6 separate regions of the Homo sapiens genome follow, and regions 1, 2, 4, 5 and 6 are each linked to region 3. The links are contacts of gene promoters, found by promoter capture Hi-C in blood cells and fetal thymus (Javierre and others, 2016). All regions are on one chromosome and are shown on one strand. Each heading gives the region's core, a stretch centred on a gene start or on the middle of the fragment in contact. The rest is flanking DNA. Distances are from core to core; before and after follow the strand shown. Region 1 has its middle 20 kb from the start of OR7D4. Region 2 holds the start of OR7E24 (olfactory receptor family 7 subfamily E member 24). Region 3 holds the start of ZNF121 (zinc finger protein 121). Region 4 overlaps ZNF317 (zinc finger protein 317). Region 5 holds the start of OR7D2 (olfactory receptor family 7 subfamily D member 2). Region 6 has its middle 4.4 kb from the start of OR7G3.

What was found. Contacts are between HindIII fragments. The CHiCAGO score rates a contact against its expected background, and 5 or more counts as called.
Region 1: a contact is called between a fragment that was not itself captured here and the fragment with the promoter of ZNF121 in region 3, in 3 of 17 cell types (M0 macrophages, non-activated CD4 T cells and naive CD4 T cells). The highest score is 8.1, in M0 macrophages.
Region 2: the fragment with the promoter of OR7E24 here is called in contact with the fragment with the promoter of ZNF121 in region 3 in 1 of 17 cell types (M2 macrophages); the score reaches 5.9 in M2 macrophages.
Region 4: a fragment that was not itself captured here is called in contact with the fragment with the promoter of ZNF121 in region 3 in 5 of 17 cell types (M0 macrophages, naive B cells, total B cells and 2 more); the score reaches 6.6 in M0 macrophages.
Region 5: the fragment with the promoter of OR7D2 here is called in contact with the fragment with the promoter of ZNF121 in region 3 in 1 of 17 cell types (total CD8 T cells); the score reaches 6.0 in total CD8 T cells.
Region 6: a fragment that was not itself captured here is called in contact with the fragment with the promoter of ZNF121 in region 3 in 8 of 17 cell types (M0 macrophages, naive B cells, endothelial precursors and 5 more); the score reaches 11.0 in M0 macrophages.

Annotation. Positions count from the first base shown.
Region 1 is chr19:9,198,188-9,201,510 of GRCh38, forward strand. No RefSeq gene overlaps it. Among named protein-coding and RNA genes, the nearest start is that of OR7D4, 20 kb to the right of the region's middle. The HindIII fragment of the contact is 2,921 bases long and covers 1-2,916 here.
Region 2 is chr19:9,248,771-9,252,227 of GRCh38, forward strand. OR7E24 (olfactory receptor family 7 subfamily E member 24) reads left to right here and starts at 2,160. Exons shown (of 1, transcript NM_001079935.2): 1 at 2,160-3,457. The coding sequence starts at 2,274. The coding sequence ends at 3,293. The HindIII fragment of the contact is 19,830 bases long and covers 1-3,457 here.
Region 3 is chr19:9,582,672-9,585,880 of GRCh38, forward strand. ZNF121 (zinc finger protein 121) reads right to left here and starts at 1,833. Exons shown (of 4, transcript NM_001008727.5): 1 at 1,790-1,833. RefSeq lists enhancers at 1-597, 1,412-2,223. The HindIII fragment of the contact is 737 bases long and covers 1,530-2,266 here.
Region 4 is chr19:9,149,699-9,153,149 of GRCh38, forward strand. The region is part of intron 1 of ZNF317 (zinc finger protein 317); the gene reads left to right. Among named protein-coding and RNA genes, the nearest start is that of ZNF317, 11 kb to the left of the region's middle. The HindIII fragment of the contact is 1,338 bases long and covers 1,392-2,729 here.
Region 5 is chr19:9,177,160-9,180,573 of GRCh38, forward strand. It overlaps OR7D2 (olfactory receptor family 7 subfamily D member 2), which reads left to right and starts at 1,820. Exons shown (of 3, transcript NM_175883.4): 1 at 1,820-1,964. The HindIII fragment of the contact is 28,883 bases long and covers 1-3,414 here.
Region 6 is chr19:9,129,751-9,132,984 of GRCh38, forward strand. No RefSeq gene overlaps it. Among named protein-coding and RNA genes, the nearest start is that of OR7G3, 4.4 kb to the left of the region's middle. The HindIII fragment of the contact is 4,665 bases long and covers 1-3,234 here.

The sequences.
Region 1 (3,323 bases), core at 206-2,705, 380 kb before region 3:
CTATGGACACTCATTTTTCTCTTCTTCTTCCTGAATTATTATGAGGAAGTCCTTAGAGATTGGGGAACTTGGGCCAATTTGGCTAATGAGGAGCTCTGTGCCTTGAGCCCCCAAGGCCATAGCATAGTGAATACTCAGCCTGTGCCTCCAGCCCTGCAGTGTGAGCTTCCAGTCCAGTGGGCTCCACACCTGTCGTCTGCATCAGGAGGCTCATGTCTGACCCTGTCTTCCTGCCAGTCCTGAGGACGGAGCCTGAGCCTCCATCGTGCACCACGCAGGGAGGACAGCGGACCTGCTCTCCATGATCATGGCCCAGCAGAGGGGAAGCGCAGCTCAGTGAGTGCTGAGGGATGGTCGGGAGCCTTCTTTCCTCATCCTCAGGACAAACAGGACAGTGGAGTGGCAGATAGGAGGACATCAATGTGCAAAATATCAGCTCAGACAACTGTGGAGTTTATGTTCTTGATTGTGGTGGGGACTCTGAAATCTCACTCAAAGTTTTACTTTCTCCCTCCACTGGTTCTACTTGCTATAGACATCTCACTGAAGCTAGGAAAAAATAGGTCTCTCTAAGCTATTCCATGAACACTGTAAAAGGATTATGAAGCTGATGATGAGGATGAGGAGGAAGAGGACAGTCACTATGACATCATGAACTTTTCCTGAGGGCTTCCTGAATGCCAGGCGCCCAGTTCTGTGTTCTATGTGGTTTGTTTCATTTTATCTGCATAGCCTTCTGCAATCCATAAGTGCACACATTATTATTATTTTGCACGAGGAAAGGAGCTGTGCATTTTTATGTAACTTGTAGTATTTCATGAAGTAGAGAGGAGTAAAGCCATGTTTGAATCAGGCCATCTAAATCCTTGCACATGGCATTTGGCTAGGCCTCTTCCTGCATCCAACCTGCCCTCTCGAATCCCTGTCACTCTGGACCCCTGGTGTGCTCACTGCTTACCAGTGGGTTCCTGGTAGACCACAGCTAGACCAGTGGGTGCTACGTTCACTGTATCAAGTATAGAAAGGGCAGCTGAGATCACATCAAAGATCCCAGAAAGAACTGGCACAGGATCCTTCAGGGTGCATCTCTCCCTTGCCCCTGTTCCTGGCTTTCCTTGCAGCTCTCCACCTCCTGAAAGGAGAAATAAAATCAGAGTTTTGGCCTCATTCCTACTCAGGAATCTGGAAACAGTTTGAAAATGCACCTCCGATGTGCCTGTGGTTAAGACCTCTTACCTCTGCTTACAACTTTCTGATAGCTGGGAAACATAAAAAAGGTTCATGCCTGAGACTCAGAGACTGATCATTTATTAGGTTGGTGACAACAGTAATGGCAAAAACCTCAATTACTTTTGCATCAACCTATAATTTTTTTAAAATCCTGTTATTCCACTTATCTGTGTGGCAGGGGGCAAGATGTTAGTGTTTCTGAGACTCAACATTGCCACCTGAGTTGATTTCTAGTTGACACAGATACATTCAGTATTGATTAAGCAGATCATGGGGGCTCCCTGTGGGATCTATTTGTGATGGATGCATAAAGTAAAGGCAACGTGTATTCTAGAAATTGTTATTAATATTTTAAGATTAATCTTTATATCACTCAACTGAAATATCCTGTGACCTGAAGTTACTGTTTCTGTACTTCCCACAGGACATTTTATTTTTGTCCTTATATAATTAAGTACTGATTATTGTGACAGAAACAACTGAGTCTCTTTCATCTCTAATTCTCCAGAGTCTCTAACCTGCTTGACACAGAGGAGGCATCAGAAATAAAAATCTCTTTTAAGAGAAATGCAGGTCAGGCGCATTGGCTCATGCCTGTAATCCCAGCACTTTGGGAGGCTGAGGCGGGTGGATCACTTGAGGTCAGGAGTTTGAGACCAGCCTGGCCAACATGGTGAAACCCCATCTCTACTGAAAATACAAAAATTAGCTGGGCATGGTGGTGGGCACCTGTAATCCCAGCTACTCAGGAGGCTGAGGCAGGAGAATCACTTGAACCTGGGAGACAGAGGTTGCAGTGAACTGAGATCGTGCCTCTGCACTCCAGCCTGGGTGACAGAGCAAGACTCCATCTCAAAAAAAAAAAAAGAGAGAGAGAGAAATGCAAATCGAAACTACAAGGAGATATCATCTCACCCCATTTAGAATGGCTTTTATCAAAAAGTCAGGCAATAGCAAATGCTCACAAGGATGTGGAGAAAGGGGAACAATTGCACACTGTTGGTGGGAATGCAAGTTAGTCCATCCATTATGGAGAACGAGTTGGAGTTTCCTCAAAATACTACAAATAGAGCTACCATAAGATGCAGCAATTCCGGGCCAGGTGCGGTGGCTCATGCCTGTATTCTCAGCACTTTAGGAGGCCAAGGCGGGTGGATCACGAGGTCAGGAGATCGAGACCATCCTGGCTAACATGGTGAAACCCTGTCTCTACTAAAAATACAAAAAATTAGCCGAGCGTGGTGGCGGGCGCCGGTAGTCCCAGCTACTCGGAAGGCTGAGGAAGGAGAATCGCTTGACCTGGGAGGCGGAGGTTGCAGTGAGCCAAGGTCGCGCCACTGCACTCTAGCCTAGGCGACAGAGCGAGATTCCATCTCAAAACAAACAAACAAACAAAAGATACAGCAATTCCATTGCTAAGTATATACCCCCCCATAAGGGAATCCATATATTGAAGAGATATCTGCACTCCCATGTTTATTACAGCACTAGTCACAATAGCCATGATTTGGAAGCAGCTAAGCATTCACCATCCATTCAACATATGAATGGACAAAGAAATTGTGTACATGTGCACAATAGAGCATTATGCAGCCATAAAAAAGGAAGAGATCCTGTCATTTGCAACAACTTGGATGGAACTGGGGGCCATCAATTTAAATGAAATAAGCCAGGCACAGAAAGATAAGCTTCACGCGTTCTCACTTATTTGTGGGATCTAAAAATTAAAACAATGGAAATCATGGAGATAGAGAGTAGAAGGATGATTACCAGAGGCTGGGAAGGGGAGTGGGGGTGAGGGGAAAAGTGCAGGATGGTTAAGCAACACAAAAGTATAGTTAGAGACAATGAATGAGATCTAGTATTAGGTGACTGTAATCAACAATAATTTATTGTACATTTTAAAATAGCTAAGAGTAATTGGATTGTTTGGCACAAGGAAAGGATAAATGCATGAGGTGATGGATACCCCATTTACCCTGATGCGATTATTGTACCTTGTATGCCTGTGTCAAAATATCTCATGTCATTCATAAATATATACACCTGCTATGTACCCATAATATTTTTTAAAAAGAAAATGATGTATAATT
Region 2 (3,457 bases), core at 910-3,409, 330 kb before region 3:
AAACCGGAAATAGTTTCAAAATGCGCTTCAGATGCACCTGTGCTTAAGACCTCTGGCCATTGCTTAAAACTTTCTGAGAGCTGGGAAACAATGAAGAAGTTTAGTGCCAGAGACTCAAAGACCAACCATTTAATTCCAAATCCTGCCCATGCCCCTGATCTGTGTGACAAGGGGTGAGATGTCTGTGTCTCTGAGGCTCAACACTATCATCTGAGTTGATTTCTGGTAGATCCCACTGCAGTGAGCAATGATTAAACAGACCGTGTGTGCTCCTGTGTGATCCCTATGTGATGGATGCATAAAGTGAAGTGTATTCTACATGTTTTCTATTAATATTCCAAGGTTAATCTCCATACCATTGAACTGAAATATCCAGGAACCTAGCTATGGTTCCCAATGTCTCTGACAGGACATTTAATTTTTGCCCTTATATAAGTAAGTACTGAGGATTGTGAGAGGAATATTTGAGTTTCTTTCAACTCTGATTTCCCAGAGCCTGTATCTTGCTTGGTACAGAGGAGACACCAAAAATTAGAATCTCTGTTACATATTGAATAGACCCTTCCTTAGTTCACAAAACTGGCTGTGATCAGTGTGACTTCAACACACTCACTGCTTTCCTATCTGTACTTTCATTCCTTCCAGGAATGTGTCACAAACTAGGCAGAAGGTAAAATAGCACTTTTTTGTGTCTATATTATGGACACATAATAATAGCATCTACAACATTCAATTACTTAAAGACCATGGCAGAGATTTTTACAGGCATAAAAAAAGAGAAAAGGATGCAGAAGGAAGTGGGGGCAGGTAAACCTTATTGTTTAGATCAAGATACATTTTAGAGTTTCACATGATTCCAGCCACAACGAAAGTAATGCCAAAGTATTTTAACATTACCTTGGCCAGGCACAGTGGCTCACACCTGTAATCCCAGCACTTTGAAAGGCAGAGGTGGGCAGATTACTTGAGGTCAGAAGTTTGAGACCAGCCTGGCCAACATGGTGAAACTCCATCTCTACTAAAAATACAAAAATCAGCTGTGCATGGTGGGGCGTGCGCCTGTAGTCCCAGCTACTCGGGAAGCTGAGGCATAAGAATCGCTTGAACCCAGGAGGCGGAGGCTGCAGTGAGCTGAGATCATGCCACTGCATTCCAGCCTGGTGACAGGCTCAAAACTTCGAGACTCAGGTCTTAAAAAAAAAAATTAAAAGCATTTTAACATTATATTAATGTTCTGTCATCCACAGGTACGTTGCACACTATCAACATCTTTGCTATCAGTGATGTCCTGGTAATTATGTGCATTTAACTAAACCTTCCTTTTAATTACTTATTGATTTAATAGTCAAGGTCTCACTCTGCCACTCTGCCTAGAGTGCGGTGGTATGATCATGGTTCAGTGCAGCCTCGAACTCCAGGGCTCAAGCGATTCTCCTGACTCAGCCTCCTGAGTAGCTGGGACTACAGGGCGGCGCCACCATGCCTGTCTAATTTTTTAGTTTTTTGTAAAGATGGGGTTTTGCTGTGTTTTCCAGGCCGGTCTTAAACTCACATCCTCAAGCAATCCTCCTGCCTTGGCCTCCCAAAGTGCTAGGATTCCAGGTGTGAGCCACCACCCTGGGCTACTTTCTTATCAAAACTCCAAGTCCACCTAAGGCAAGGACAGGAATTATAATTAAGTGAATTTTAAAAGAAAGCCCACATATTTGAGTGAGTACTTACTTCCATGAAGAATGAAAGTCAGAAAACGTAAGAATGATGGAAACCGTAGAATATAACTGGTATGTAAAGATGTTTTCTGGCTATGAACTATGAACTTTCATTGAGTTTTGAGACAACATGATCCTAGATCTCATTGAGTGTTGATAAATATCCTCAATCAATGGAATTTGTAGAATTGTATTAGAATAAAACAAGACATAGCTGACTCCTTCTTAGTATCCTTTCAATGGATTTAATCTTTTTCTTAAAGGGGCAAGAATATTTTTGTTGTATATTTTTTCCTGATAAATTAGGCTATATTTTACCGTGATCATGGATTTCTAAAATCTCTAATGTTTTTGCTCTCCTAACATTCTTCAATAGACTGTCTCTAAGTTAAGTGTATACAGAAAGAGGTGAATAACACAAAATCAATTATGAAGTAACTCTAAGGAAATTGGGTTTGTCACAACTGAGAACTATTGCTGAGGGTGTATAATCCTATGTGAAAACTTAATTTCTTAATTGCTTGTATCCAAAATATAGACACAGTGCTAGATGCTGGTTTACTTATGTCCTATTTTCCAATTCTCTTTTTTTTTTTCCTCAAAAGGTGTCCGAGCTACACAGAGCCACAGAATCTCACAGGTGTCTCAGAATTCCTCCTCCTGGGACTCTCAGAGGATCCAGAACTGCAGCCGGTCCTCGCTGGGCTGTTCCTGTCCATGTACCTGGTCACGGTGCTGGGGAACCTGCTCATCATCCTGGCTGTCAGCTCTGACTCCCACCTCCACACCCCCATGTACTTCTTCCTCTCCAACCTGTCCTTGGCTGACATCGGTTTCACCTCCACCACGGTCCCCAAGATGATTGTGGACATGCAAACTCACAGCAGAGTCATCTCCTATGAAGGCTGCCTGACTCAGATGTCTTTTTTTGTCCTTTTTGCATGTATGGATGACATGCTCCTGAGTGTGATGGCCTATGACCGGTTTGTGGCCATCTGTCACCCCCTGCACTACCGAATCATCATGAACCCACGCCTCTGTGGCTTCTTAATCTTGTTGTCTTTTTTTATTAGTCTTTTGGACTCCCAGTTGCACAATTTGATTATGTTACAGCTCACCTGCTTCAAGGATGTGGACATTTCTAATTTCTTCTGTGACCCTTCTCAACTCCTCCACCTTAGGTGTTCCGACACCTTCATCAATGAAATGGTCATATATTTCATGGGTGCCATATTTGGCTGTCTCCCTATCTCAGGGATCCTTTTCTCTTACTATAAAATTGTTTCCCCCATTCTGAGAGTTCCAACATCAGATGGGAAGTATAAAGCCTTCTCCACCTGTGGCTCTCACCTGGCAGTTGTTTGCTTATTTTATGGAACAGGGCTTGTAGGGTACCTCAGTTCAGCTGTGTTACCATCCCCCAGGAAGAGTATGGTGGCTTCAGTGATGTACACTGTGGTCACCCCCATGCTGAACCCCTTCATCTACAGCCTGAGGAACAAGGACATTCAAAGTGCCCTGTGCAGGCTGCATGGCAGAATCATCAAATCTCATCATCTCCATCCTTTTTGTTATATGGGATAGAAATGGCAGCAAAATTTAACACCTAGGCCTGCAAATTCTGCCTCCTTGGTCACATTATTTTGGTTGCTTGATGGCTTTCATTCCTCTCTGGGTTTCGTATGTGAATATTGCTTGCTTTGTTTTGTCTTTAATTGCAATGGGTGAGTATTCTGGTATCCTTTGTT
Region 3 (3,209 bases), core at 583-3,082:
CTGGGAGGCAGAGGTTGCAGTGAGCCGAGATCGCACCTCTGCACCCCGACCCGGGTAGCAGAGCGAGACTCTGTCTCAAAAAAAAAAAAAAAAAAACTACTAGACTGGGTGTGTTAGATGTTCAAGTTTTCCCTAGGATCAAATTTTTCAGAAAAAAATGTCAAAACTACACTTAGTCTAAACATGCTGTTAATAAATTCAATAGATACTACTTTATTACACTAATACTAGAATAATATTCTGATTATAAAGCCTCCATCCTGGCCAGGAGCGGAGGCTCACGCCTGTAATCCCAGCTCTTTGGGAGGCCGTCAGGCGGATTACAAGGTCAGGAGTTCGAGACCAGCCTGGCGAGCATGGTGAAACCCTGTCTCCACTAAAAATACAAAAAAAAAAAATTAGCTGGGCATGGTCCCCATGCCTGTTGTCCCTGCTACTCGGAGGCTGAGGCAGGAGAATCACTTGAACCCAGGAGGTGGAGGTTGCAGTGAGCTGAGATCGCGCCACTGCACTCCAGCCTGGGCGACAGAGCAAGACTCCGTCTGAAAAAAACAAACAAAAGCCTCCATCCTTTCTTCCTGTGGGCCCGTTTTGAAGCTCTGTGGGGGGGTACAGACCTAGGAACTTCAGATAAAGACAACAGCTGTGTATTATTGCCTTTCTTTCTTTTTTGAGACGGAGTTTCGCTCTCATCGCCCAGGCTGGAGTGCAGTGGCAGATCTCGGCTCACTGCAACCTCGGCCTCTCAGGTTCAAGCAATCCTCCTGCCTCAGCCTCCCAAGTAGCTAGGATTACAGGGGACTGCCACCAAGCCTGGCTTTTTTTTTTTTTTTTTTTTTTTTGTGTGTGTGAGACGGAGTCTCCCTCTTTTGCCCAGGCTGGAGTGCAGTGGCGCGATCTCGGCTCACTGCAAGCTCCGCCTCCCGGGTTCACGCCATTCTCCTGCCTCAGCCTCCCGAGTAGCTGGGACTACAGGCGCCCGCCATCGCGCCTGGCTAATTTTTTGTATTTTTAGTAGAGACAGGGTTTCACCATGTTGGCCAGGCTGGTCTCGAACTCCTGACCTCAGGTGATCTGCCCGCCTCGACCTCCCAAATGGCTGGGACTACAGGCGTGAGCCAGCGCGCCCAGCCTGCCTTTCTTTTGTAGAAAGGCTTGTAGCTGGTAACAACAAAAAACATTAAGTCCAAGAAAATAAAATAAGAAACTAAAGGCTCACAGTCTACACGTGTTCATATTTACATGCAGATATAGGCACACCCTAAACGACTATTTTTTTTCCATCAGAAAGTAATGTGTCAAAAATAAGAATAGGACATCAATGCCAGATTCTCAGACGAGACATTTTTAAGCAAAGAAATGGAAGTCAGAGCCCTCTTGAAACCAATTTTCTGCAGGTGTTCACCAGGAACATGCCGGAAACGCCAGGTTCCTGAGGCGCGGAAATGCGGGGCCGGAGCCAACCTGACTGGAACGGCAGAAATCCTTTTACTTTCAGAAAGAAAGAAACTCACAAAGGTTGCTTTCCAAGCTTTTGAAGAAGGGAGCACAGCGGATGAAACCACTCCAGAAAACGCGCGGAGTCGGGACAAACACACTTCCCGACCTGGCTCCTGACTGGGACCCACTGAGCCTGCGGCCTCTAGCCACTGGCCGCGCAAGGAGGACCGACAGCCCCTGGAGAAGAGAGTGAAACGAGGCGGATCGGAGAGGCTCCTGGGCGACAGCACCCAATCGTTCCTTTGCCGCCCCCCGCTATCTCCGGGATCCCCAAGCAGGCGGAACTCACCACAGCCAGGGTGGACTCCACCACGATAAAGGCGAAATGGCACTGACCATGCGGAGCCAGCGCCGGAAAAGATGGCGATTGTGCGCTGACGTCACTTCCGCTCCGAGCCTCGGGCCGGGCGGGGCTCCTGGGTTCGAGTTTCAGCCACATAGGACCCAGTCAAACACAGAAATTGTAGTTTCTTCCCGGGTGGGCGCGGACAGGCCCTTACTTGGGGGCGGTTTAGAGGTGGGACCCGGCTAGCCGGCGGTTCAGGTGGCCGGACCTGCTGGAAGGGCGGGCGTGGGGGATGGGACGCACCCCAGGGGATGCTCCTGCAGAGCTTTTCCCAGGTGGGCACAGTGGCTAAGGCCTGTAAGTCCAACACTTTGGGAGGCTAAGGCAGGTGGATAGCTTGAGTCCAAGAGTTCAAGACCAGCGTGGGCAAAATAGCAACATCCTTTATTAAAATATATATGTGTGTATACATATATATAAAGCTTGTTTGTATACATCTCATGTTCCTAGAGCCTTTCCATGATTCTTCCATATGGATAAAGCTGCCAGTGAATGGCATGGTCTATCTCTTCTATTCAGTCAGGCTTTCTGTAGGCCTTTATTTCTTCATTCTTTATTTTTTAGAACCTGCTGGTTCCATTGCGTTTTCTTTTTTCGTTTTTCTTTTTCATTTTTTATTTTTTTTTGAGACAGATCTCACTCTGTTGCCCAGGCTGGAGTGCAGTGGCATGACCTCGGCTCACTGTAACCTCTGCCCCCCGGGTTCAAGTGATTCTCCTGCCTCAACCTCCCGAGTAGCTGGGATTACAGATGTCTGCCTCCACGCCCAGCTAATTTTTGTACTTTTAGTAGAGAAGAGTTTCACCATGATGGCCAGACTGATCTCGAACTCCTGACCTCCAATGATCTGTCTCCCTCAGCTTCCCAAAGTGCTGGAATTATAGACATGAGCCACCGCACCCGGCCACGTTTTCAATATAATAATATTTTCTGTAAATCTTGATTTTTTTTTGTCTTCATCAAGTATGTATTTCTGGCTGGGTATGGTGGCTTATGCCTATAATCCCAGCAATTTGGGAGGCCAAGGGATCGTTTGAGGCCAGGAGTTTGAGACCAGCCTGGGCAATACAGCAAGACCCCGTCTCTGTTTAAAAAAAATTTTAAATATGTTTTTGTTTTTGTTTTGAGATGGAGTCTAGCTCTGTTGCCCAGGCTGGAGTGCAGTGGCACGATCTTGCTCACTGCAACCTCTGCCTCCCGGGTTCAAGCGATTCTTCTCTCTCAGCCTCCTGAGTAGCAGAGATTACAGGCAGGCGCCGCCATGCCCGGCTAATTTTTGTATTTTTAGTAAAGACAGGGTTTCACCATATTGGCCCAGTTGGTCTCGAACTCCTGACCTCATGATCCGCCTGCCTCACCTTTC
Region 4 (3,451 bases), core at 811-3,310, 430 kb before region 3:
GTGGGTGAGGCGGCAGGGACCTGGGCCCTTGGTCTGAGTGAGATGGGACACCATCAGAGGATCTTGAACAGAGGAGCGGTGTGATCTTCATTTTACCCATAAAGTTACGGCTGTCATGGAAGCTAAGGGAAGTCAGGGACAGCAGCTGGGAGACCAGTTAGGAAGCAGTTGGAATGTTCTAGAAGAGAAGCGATGCCTTATGCCAAGGCAGTAGCAGTGTAGGTGGTGAGAAGCAACCAGATTTTTGTATTAAGTTTTAAAGTTAAGGCTGGCAGGATTTGCTGGTGATGCAGGTGTGGTTTATGGAAAAGAAAGAGGAGAGTTGAAGGTGATGACGAGCAAGGCTTTTGACTTGAGCCCCTGGGAGGCTGGAGCTGCCATCAACGTGGGGAGGCTGGTGGCAGCACAGTTGTAGGTGTTTAATGTGGGATCCTGTTGGCTGTTGCAGTAGGGATACTAAGTAGCCACCTGGCTGCCACTCACTCTGAGTCATTCTGGGTGGGGCAGGTGCCAGGGAGCGGAGAGTGGCACCCACTATAAATGAACAATTCTGTTAAGTAATTGTGAAATCGTCAGTGGTCATTTTATTTTAATGATAATGGCATTTTAGAGTGAATGTTTGTTTACTGAGCCTATAGAGTTCCATACATAACCCAGTGTTAAAGTCTTCAGTTTCCAGATGAGAAAACTGAGTTTTGATGAACTGACTCTTGGGAGGGGAATGAGCAGAACTGTGGGCTTGCATTAAAGGGGAGTCTACTGAGGCCTCAGGGACAGGGAGACCTTCACAGAAGTGCAATCAGAACCTGGGTGTCAGCACCTCCAAATGGTGGGGGTGTTTCACAATGTGGACCTGTGGGAGATGGGGGAGAGGGGCCCAGGGGAACCCTGACCTTTAGGGGCTGGGCAGAGGAGGGATCTCAAGCCAGAGTCTTCAAAAGAGCAACCAGAGATGTGAGCACAGACTGGGATGAGTGGGCTATGGCTGCAAGAGCAGTGGCATTCCCAGGAAGAGGGAGATAGATTCATAGTGAGCAAGATGATGTGTCAGGAGGTCAGGCAAAGGAAGGGTCAAGATGTAGTGTCAAGGAGTTCCCACATAGGGGACAGTACAGGTGACATAGGTCACTTTGAGAGGCAACAAGATGTGGCTCCGCAGTCACGTCAGCTGGGCTCACAACTTCCACCTATGACCTTGACCAAGTGTCTCGGACCCTTGGTGCCTTATTCTCTGGGTACTTGAGAATAATTCCGGGAGGTTGTGAGGATTAAATAGGAGTGGCCCTGGAAAGACTCAGGAGAATGTCTCATACCTTGTAAACACTACACATGTCGTTATTTGTAGAATTGGCATTAATGTTGGTGGGGAAAGGTGGAATGGGACCTGCAGAAGCTTGTTAGTTGAGCATGAATGAATGAATGGTAGGTGAGGATGGAGATACTGTGCCTCAGGAACTGAGCCTCTGTCACCCTCTCTCCCCTTCCTCAGCAGTGACTTAATGTCAGAACCCAAAGGCACAATGACTAGAAAAGGGCTTTGTAAAAAGAATGAAAGCGTCATGCATCTTTGAGTTGGCCCAAGATCAAATTTGGTGTTGAATAATGAATCCCCAAGGCAGAGTTTATACGTTAAAACACACTTCCTATATTATTGTTTTGAAATGTTTCTGAATATCTAAAACAATTCCAATAGCAGAAATACTAATTGATGTTGAAAAAGATTGTTATAACCCTGGTAATGTTTAAAAGTGGTAATATTGATTATTGATCTGAGTCAGATGTTAAAGTAGCAGCGTCACGGTTCTTACATCAGTGCTGTCATGAGAGTCGCGGTGGAAGCCAGAGAGAGGAGGCATGTTCATACAAAGCAAATTAAATCCCCTCCCGAGGTGTGGGCCACCATACCTCACCAATGTATTGTGGTTTTGATGTTATTTCCTTAATGACTGATGTTGTTAATCATCTTTTCATGTGTTTACAGTTCATTTCTGTAAATTTGGAGAAATGTCTGTTCTGTTCAAGTCTCCTGCCCACTTTTTTACTGGGTTGTCTTTGTTGTTGAGTTTATAATGATATTAAATCCCTATCACATACATGATTTGCAAATATTTTCCACCATTCTGTGTCTCATTCACTTTCTTGATAATGTCCTTGATGTTAATTCTAAATGTTTGGTAGGGTTCACCAGTGAAGCCCCTTGGTCCTGGACTTTTTTTTTTTTTTTTTGAGACGGAGTCTTGCTCTGTCGCCCAGGCTGGAGTGCAGTGGCGCAATCTCGGCTCACTGCAAGCTCCGCCTCCCAGGTTCACACCATTCTCCTGCCTCAGCCTCCCGAGTAGCTGGGACTACAGGCACTCATCACCACGCCTGGCTAATTTTTTGTATTTTTAGTAGAGATGGGGTTTTACCGTGTTAGCCAGGATGGTCTCGATCTCCTGACCTCCTGATCCACCCGCCTCGGCCTCCCAAAATGCTGGGATTACAGGCGTGAGCCACCGTGCCCAGCTGGTCCTGGACTTTTTATTTAATGGCTTTTGATGACTGCCTCAGTCTCTTGTTATAGGTCTCTCAATTTTCTTTTTCTTCTAGAGCCTGTTTGGGTATGTTTCAAGGAATTTGATACATCTAGAGCATTGATCCCCAAGCCCTGGGCCACAGACAGGTACCGGTCCCTGGCCTTTTAGGAACAAGGCCCTGCCGCAGGAGGTGAGCGGAGGGCAAGTGAGTGAAGCTTCATCTGTATTTACAGCGGCTCCCCATCACTCACATTACCCCTGAACTCCACCTCCTGTCAGATCATCAGCAGCATTAGATTCTCATAGGGGCGCAGACCCTATTGTGCACTGCACATGCAAGGGATCTAGATTGCACACTCCTTATGAAAATCTAATGCCTGATGATCTGTCAGTGTCTCCCATCACCTCCAGATGGGACCATCTAGTTTCAGGAAAACACTCTCAGGGCTTCCACTAATTCTATATTATGGTGAGTTGTATAATTATTTTACCATATATTACAATGTAATAATAATAGAAATAAAGTGCACAATAAATGTAATGCACTCAAGTCATCCCAAAACCATCCCCCCTCACCTCACCATCCATGGAAAAATTGTCTTCCATGACACCAGTCTCTGATGCCAAATTGGGTGGGGACTGCTAGTGTAGATGATCTAATGTGTTGGTGCATAATTGTTCATGGCATTCTCTTACAGCCCTTTGAATTTCCGTAAGGTCGGTAGTAATGTCCCACTTCCACTGATGATTTTAGTTACTTGCATCTTTTTTTGTTAGTAATTCTAGCTGTAGTTTTGTCACCTTTGTTGATCTTTTTGAAAGAACCAACTTTTGTTTTCATTAATTCTCCTATTCTCTATTTCATTTGTCTCTGCTTTAATCTTTATTTCTTCACTTTTGCTTTCCCTAGGTTTAGTGTGTCAAGGTAGTTGTTT
Region 5 (3,414 bases), core at 570-3,069, 410 kb before region 3:
GGGAGGCTGAGGCAGGAGAATCGCTTGAACCTCGGAGGTGGAAGTTGCATTCCAGCCTGGGCGACAAGAGTGAGGCTTTGTCTCAAAATAATAATATAAAAATAATAATAATAATAAATAGAAAAACAACAAAAAATAAAAAACAAATTAGCTAATTGGGAGACTGATGTGGGAGGATTGCTTGATCTCAGGTCTTTGGGATTGTAATGAGCTATGATTGTGCCACTGCACTCCAGCCTAGGTGACAGAGTAAGACCCTGACAAAAAAGAAGAAAGAAAAAAAAAGAGAGAGGAGAGAGAGAGAGAAAGAACATTCGGACACATATACAGCATACATGAACCTTGGCAATATTTCACTTAAATGAAATAAGTCAGTCACAAAAAGACAAACAGTGTATACTTCCGTCTATGAAGTAGGTACCACAGTCAGAATTATAGAGACAGAAAGTGGTATGGTGGTTCATTAGGGGCTGGGGAGGGTGAATGAGGGATGAGTGTTACGGGACAGAGTTTCAGCTTGGGGAGATGAGAAGATTCTGAATATGGAGGATAGTGATGGCTGCTGTGAATATACTTAATGCCACTGAATAGTACACTTAAAATGGTTAAGATGGTGAACTGTATGTTATGTATATTTTACCATCATTTTAAAAATTGAAAAAAACTTTTTTCTTATTGTTCAGTTCCTCCCAAACTTGCCATCAATGAAATTTTCCCCATCACTCTACCCAGATCGCTGTTTCTAATGTTTTCCATGCCATTAAATGTGATGGATATTCTTCAGCCTTTATTTTGCTTAGCCTTATAGCATCGTTTTACATGGTTGTTAGAAATAAATCTTGGAGTCATAAAGAAAAATGAGCACTCAAACAAAGGATTTCTCAGCAAAGCAAATTTACTTCTGCGCAGAAGGGTGCTTCTCGTAGGGTTGGCTGCTACAAGAGCACCCTGAACAAAGGAGAGTAGCAACTTTTATTCTTAATGCGACTCTTGACTTTGTGTGTCCTTTCCCCATTGGCTGGGGTCGGACAGCACAATCTAAACTAGACTTGATTGGTTACACATTTAAACTGTCTTAGATAAGGTGGGTGTGTGATGGGAGACAGAGGAGAGGAGGAAGGGGTCTTCTACAGAGGAATAGACAGCTAGTCTATTCTTAAATAAGGAAAGAAATGTGAGCTGGGGCTATGGCATATCTGGGCATGCAGCAAAATCAGAAAGAAGAAAAGGAGAAGAAAGTGTGTGGGGGGGGTACTTGGAATTAGAGAATAAGAAGCTGAGCAGGCTGTTTGAAGAGAAATCTTGCTGTATCTCGCAATGGTTGACTCTCCCTCTCTTGAAACAGGACTTACGACATGTCCACAGCCTGTTTAACGCCCTGCAGCCAACGCGATCACAGGGGATTCACGGAAATAGTTGCATCTCTATTTTCTTCTGTGTTACCTTGAGACCCTTAGGCACTGGGATTACAGAGAGATGGGTCTTTGTAGCTTCTGCGACACATTCCAGAGGGGAAAACCTCTTTATCTCAAAGCCAAACCAATAGTGATGAAAGCTCTTCCAAGAATAAAGAGGCCCCAAGAGGGTGGGAGGTGCAGAGAGAGTCACCTGGCTTCAGAGCTGCCTTCTTGGAAACAGAATTAGAACACATCATACCTTTCTGCCATTTGCTCTTGATCCCAAGGGAGCCGAATGGGTTGGAGAGTAGAACATCACTGGAACAGTGGATTTAATGAGGAAGGATGAGACATCAGCTCCCTGGGGCTTGAGAAACCATAAATACTTCCCTAAAACACCTCACCTGGACAGTTTCCTGACGCCACACTCATGCATCTTAGAGAGGAGAGTTAGGATGACTTCATGACAAGTTCCATCTCCCCGCCTTTCCCTGCTAGATTCTGTCTTCAGCATTCAACAGTCAGGGGAGGAAGACGTCATACCAGCATTTTTTTTTTTCAAGCAATGTCAGTTGAGTGACTCACACTATCCTTGTTAGTACCGTGTGTGAAAAGGATTTAAAAAGTAGTGTGGGGAGGAACAGAGATGGAGGTAACAGGGTTGATAATGTCTCATGATTTTTAAAATGTCTCTAGGATTCCCTTACCTGGTTATAGATGTCTTAAGGCATTGCAACTTTTGGGAGGCTGAGGCAGGCGGATCGCTTGAGGCCAGGAGTCTAAGACAAGCCTGGCCAACTTGGTGAAACCCCATCTCATCTAAAAATACAAAAATTAGCTGGGCATGGTGGCGGATGCCTGTAATCCCAGCTACTCGGGAGCCTGAGTCAGGAGAATGGCTTGAACCCGGGAGACAGAGGTTGCCATGAGCCAAGATCACGCCACTGCACTCCAGCCTGGGTGACAGAGTGAGTGAGACGCTGTCTCAAAAAAAAAAAAAGATTCTATTGCAACTGTTTCTGTCACCTCCACCTCTGATGGCCTTTCATTCTGGAAACTAGTGACTTTCTCAATGTCAGTAGGAACTGGCACTTCCTTGAGTGGATTCCTTTCAGTCTACCTGCTAACACCTTCCTTTTTCTTCTCTAGTATAATATAATAGTTCTCGGCCGGGTGCAGTGGCTCATGCCTATAATCCCAGAACTTTAGGAGGCCGAGGCGGGTGGATCACAAGGTCAAGAGATCGAGACCATCCTGGCCAACATGGTGAAACCCTGTCTCTACTAAAAATACAAAATTAGCCGGGCATGGTGGTGTGTGCCTGTAGTCCCAGCCATTTGGGAGGCTGAGGCAGGGGAATTTCTTGAACCTGGGAGGCAGAGGTTGCAGTGAGCTGAGATTGCACCATTGCACTTCAGCCTGGGCAACAAGAACAAAACTCCGTCTAAAAAAAAAAAAATCAACAAAGCAAAGCAAAACAAAACAAGTATGTATTAAATGTTCACTCTGCACCAGATGTTACATATATTATCATTGCAATTGTGAATGGACTTTTTTTCCTCTTATTTTTTCTCATGGCTGTTTGCAGATACATAAGAAAGCTGATGACACTGATTAGTTGTAATTAATTGTGTTTAAGTTGACTTTTTTTTTTTTTGAGACAGGGTCTTTCTGGGCTCAAGCAAACCTCCTGCCTTGGCCTCCCAAGTAGCTAATTTTTTAAAAATCTATTTTTGTAGAGGCAAGTGTCTCATTTTGTTGTCTAGGCTGGTCTCAAACTCCTGGCCTCAAGAATTTCTCCTGCCTTAGCCTCTCAAAGTGCTGGGATTACAGGCAGGAGTCACAGCACCCAGCCAGGCTGTTACATTTTATTAAATGAATTTTAGCTTATGTTAAAACCATGGTTTCTTTTTCTGCCTTGCTCTATTCACGCATATACTTTGTTATCTGACTTGCCGATATTAAATTTTTTACACTCTTAGGATAAATATTCATTAGTAATGGAGTGTGTTATTTT
Region 6 (3,234 bases), core at 574-3,073, 450 kb before region 3:
CTGGGATTACAGGCGTGAGCCACCACGCCTGGCCTGCAATGACCTTTCCTATCATTTTTGTTTCTAGCTGTGGACAATGCTTGATGCCTCAGGGACATGGGGGTGAGATGGGGTGCAAAAGGAAGAAGCAGGGAAGATATCCCAAGAATAATGTCAGGCCGGGTGCGGTGGCTCACACCTGTAATCCCAGCACTTTGGGAGGCCGAGGCGGGCAGATGACCTGAGGTCAGGAGTTTGAGACCAGCCTGGCTGACATGGTGAAACCCCGTCTCTACTAAAAAAATTTAAAAATTAGCCAGGTGTGGTGATGCATGCCTGTAATCCCAGCTACTTGGAGACTAAGGCAAGAGGATTGCTTGAACCTGGGAGGTGCAGGTTGCAGTGAGCTGAGATCACGCCACTTCACTCCAGCTTGGGTGATAGAGTGAGACTCCATCTCAAAAAAAAAAAAAAAAAAAAAAAGAAGAAGAATGTCTTAGGGCTGAGCAAAGAAGGCATGTGCTCAAAATCCCACTGAGGGTTCTCCTAGTGTAATAAGGTACAGAAAAGAAAGAACTGGGCTTGACACAGTGGCTCAAGCCTGTAATCCCAGCACTTTGGAAGGCCGAGGTGGGAGGATCACTTGAGCCCAGGAGTTTGAGACCAGCCTGGGTTGTGTGTCTGTACTCTATCTAGCCTGGGTGACAGAGCAAGATGCTGTCTCAGAGAAAAGAAAAAGAAAAAAGAAAAAGCCAGGCGCAGTGGCTCGCGCCTGTAATCCTAGCATTTTGGGAGGTAGAGGCAGGCAGATCACTTCAGCCCAGGAGTTAGAGACCAGCCTGGGCAACATGGTGAAACCCCATCTCTACAAAAAATACAAAAACTAGTCAGGCATGGTGGCATGCACCTATAGTCCTAGCTACTCAGGAGGCTGAGGTAGGAGGATCACCTGAGCTCAGGAGGTCGAGGTTGTTGTGAGCCGTGATTGAGCCACTGTACTCCAGTCTGGGTGACAGAGTGAGATCCTGTCTCAAAATAAAGTAAGAAAGAAAGAAGCTAAACAAACATCAGTATGGGGATAGATACACAAATTATGGCACTATTATTACATGTAATAATAGTGTTAAACTAAGCATAGTGAATGCCCACCAATTTCAGAGAGTGGTGGTCCCCAGGAAGGGAAGGAGAGGAATAAAAACAAATCAAGAGGACTTCATGTTTAAGTGTTATACTTTATTGTTATTATTATTATATTTAGTATTTTAAATCTATTTTTAAAATTAAAAAAAATTTTTTTTTTTTGCAGAGATGAGCTCTTGCTATGTTGCCCAGGCTATGTTGCTATGTTGCCCATGCCTGTAAGCCCAAAGTGCTAGGATTACAGGCATGAACCACCACATCTGGCCTGTTTTGGGGTTTTAAAAGAGAAACCGAAAGACTGGAAATGTAAGTGAGTGGGTCTCAACTTCCTCTTCTGGAGTTTCTCACTGTCAAGAGATGGGGACAAGAGTCAAGTTATTTAAGGGTGAAATCTGGCAACAGACATGGTGAAGATTGAAAAGCCAGACACATCTCATCAAAGCCCCATCTGCAGTCAAAAGAATGAGGAAAACCATGGGGCCAGGCATGGTGGCTCATGTCTGTAATTCCAGCACTTTGGGAGGCCAAAGTGGGCGGATCACGAGGTCAAGAGATCAAGACCATCCTGGCCAACTTGGTGAAACCCCATCTCTACTAAAAATACAAAAGTTAGCCAGGCATGGTGGTGGGCGCCTGTAATCCCAGCTACTCAAAAGGCTGAGGCAGGAGAATCGCTGGAACCCAGGAGGCGGAGGTTGCAGTGAACTGAGATGGAGCCACTGCACTCCAGCCTGGTGACAGAGCGAGACTCCTTCTCAAAAAATAAAAAAAAGAATGTGGAAAACCAGAGAACTGTAGATTCCTTTTGTTTATTTGTTTGTTTTATGAGACAGAGTCTTGCTCTGTCACCAGGCTGGAATGCAGTGGTGCCATCTCAGCTCACTGCAACCTCTGCCTCCCGGGTTCAAGCGATTCTCCTGCCTCAGCCTCCTGAGTAGCTGGGATTACAGGTGCATGCCACCATGCCCGGCTAAATTTTTGTATTTTTAGTAGAGATGGGGTTTCACCATGTTGGCCAGGCTGGTCTTGAACTCCTGACCTCAGGTGATTGATCCGCCTTGGTTCCCAAAGTGCTGGGACTACATGCGTGAGCCACCGCACTTGGCCAGATTCCTTTTTGAAGGGACTAATTCATACTTAGGTAGGGAAGGAGTCCCTAGGATTTAGAAGACAGAATGAGAGCTGAAAATAATGAAATCTGATTATAAATTGTAAGAAAACAGGGGAAGTAAATATATCATGAAAAGGGTCACCGATTAGTTTGGAATCTCACTTATAACAATTCTGCTGAATTGTCTCTTACTTTATGGTTGTCCTCCAGATAAGATGGGAGAAAAAATAAAATAAAAAACTTGTTCAGTTTCTCACAGCATTTATTGGGAGCATTTCAGATTACCTTGAAGGCATCAGTAAGGAATTCTCCATTTTTTTTCTTGGAGAATTGTAAGATGAAATGGAAGATCTATCCCCAAGAAGGGCAGATGAACCAAGTAAGGCAACCCACTCTTGGGCAAGAGGGATCATCTCTGGAGCAAGACTCAGGTGTGATGTTTCCTAACATGAGCGGGGCTGTTGAGTGGAGTGGTCACCGGTAGATTATTTGCAGTCTCTGTGGCCCCTAGGAGCTCAATTTTCAAAGCTGCTCATTAGCTAGATGTGTACAGTACTGTCATTTCTTCCCCTAAGGCAGCTCAAATCCTTAATGAGCACAGGTCAGACGTGAGCACAAAGGGGGAATTCCTGGATGGTTGACTTTCTGACCCCAAGGGACAAGCTGTATGTCATTCTCTTCCAACCACATTTCCTCTTATCCCGAGGGTATCTCATTCTTGGATCCTAGGATCGGACCCCTAGGGAGCTGGTGGAATCCTCCTTAGACAGAATCCCAGCTTTCTCTGAGTCAGAAATTGCTTTTTTTTTTTTTTTTTTTTTTCAAACCAAGTCTCACTCTGCGCCCTGGCTGGAGTGCAGTGGCGTGATCTCAGCTCACTGCAACCTCCGCCTCCCAGGTTCAAGCGATTCTCCTGCCTCAGCCTCCTGAGTAGAGTAGCTAGGATTACAGGCACACACGACACCTGGCAAATTTTTATATTTTCAGTAGAGACGAGGTTTCAC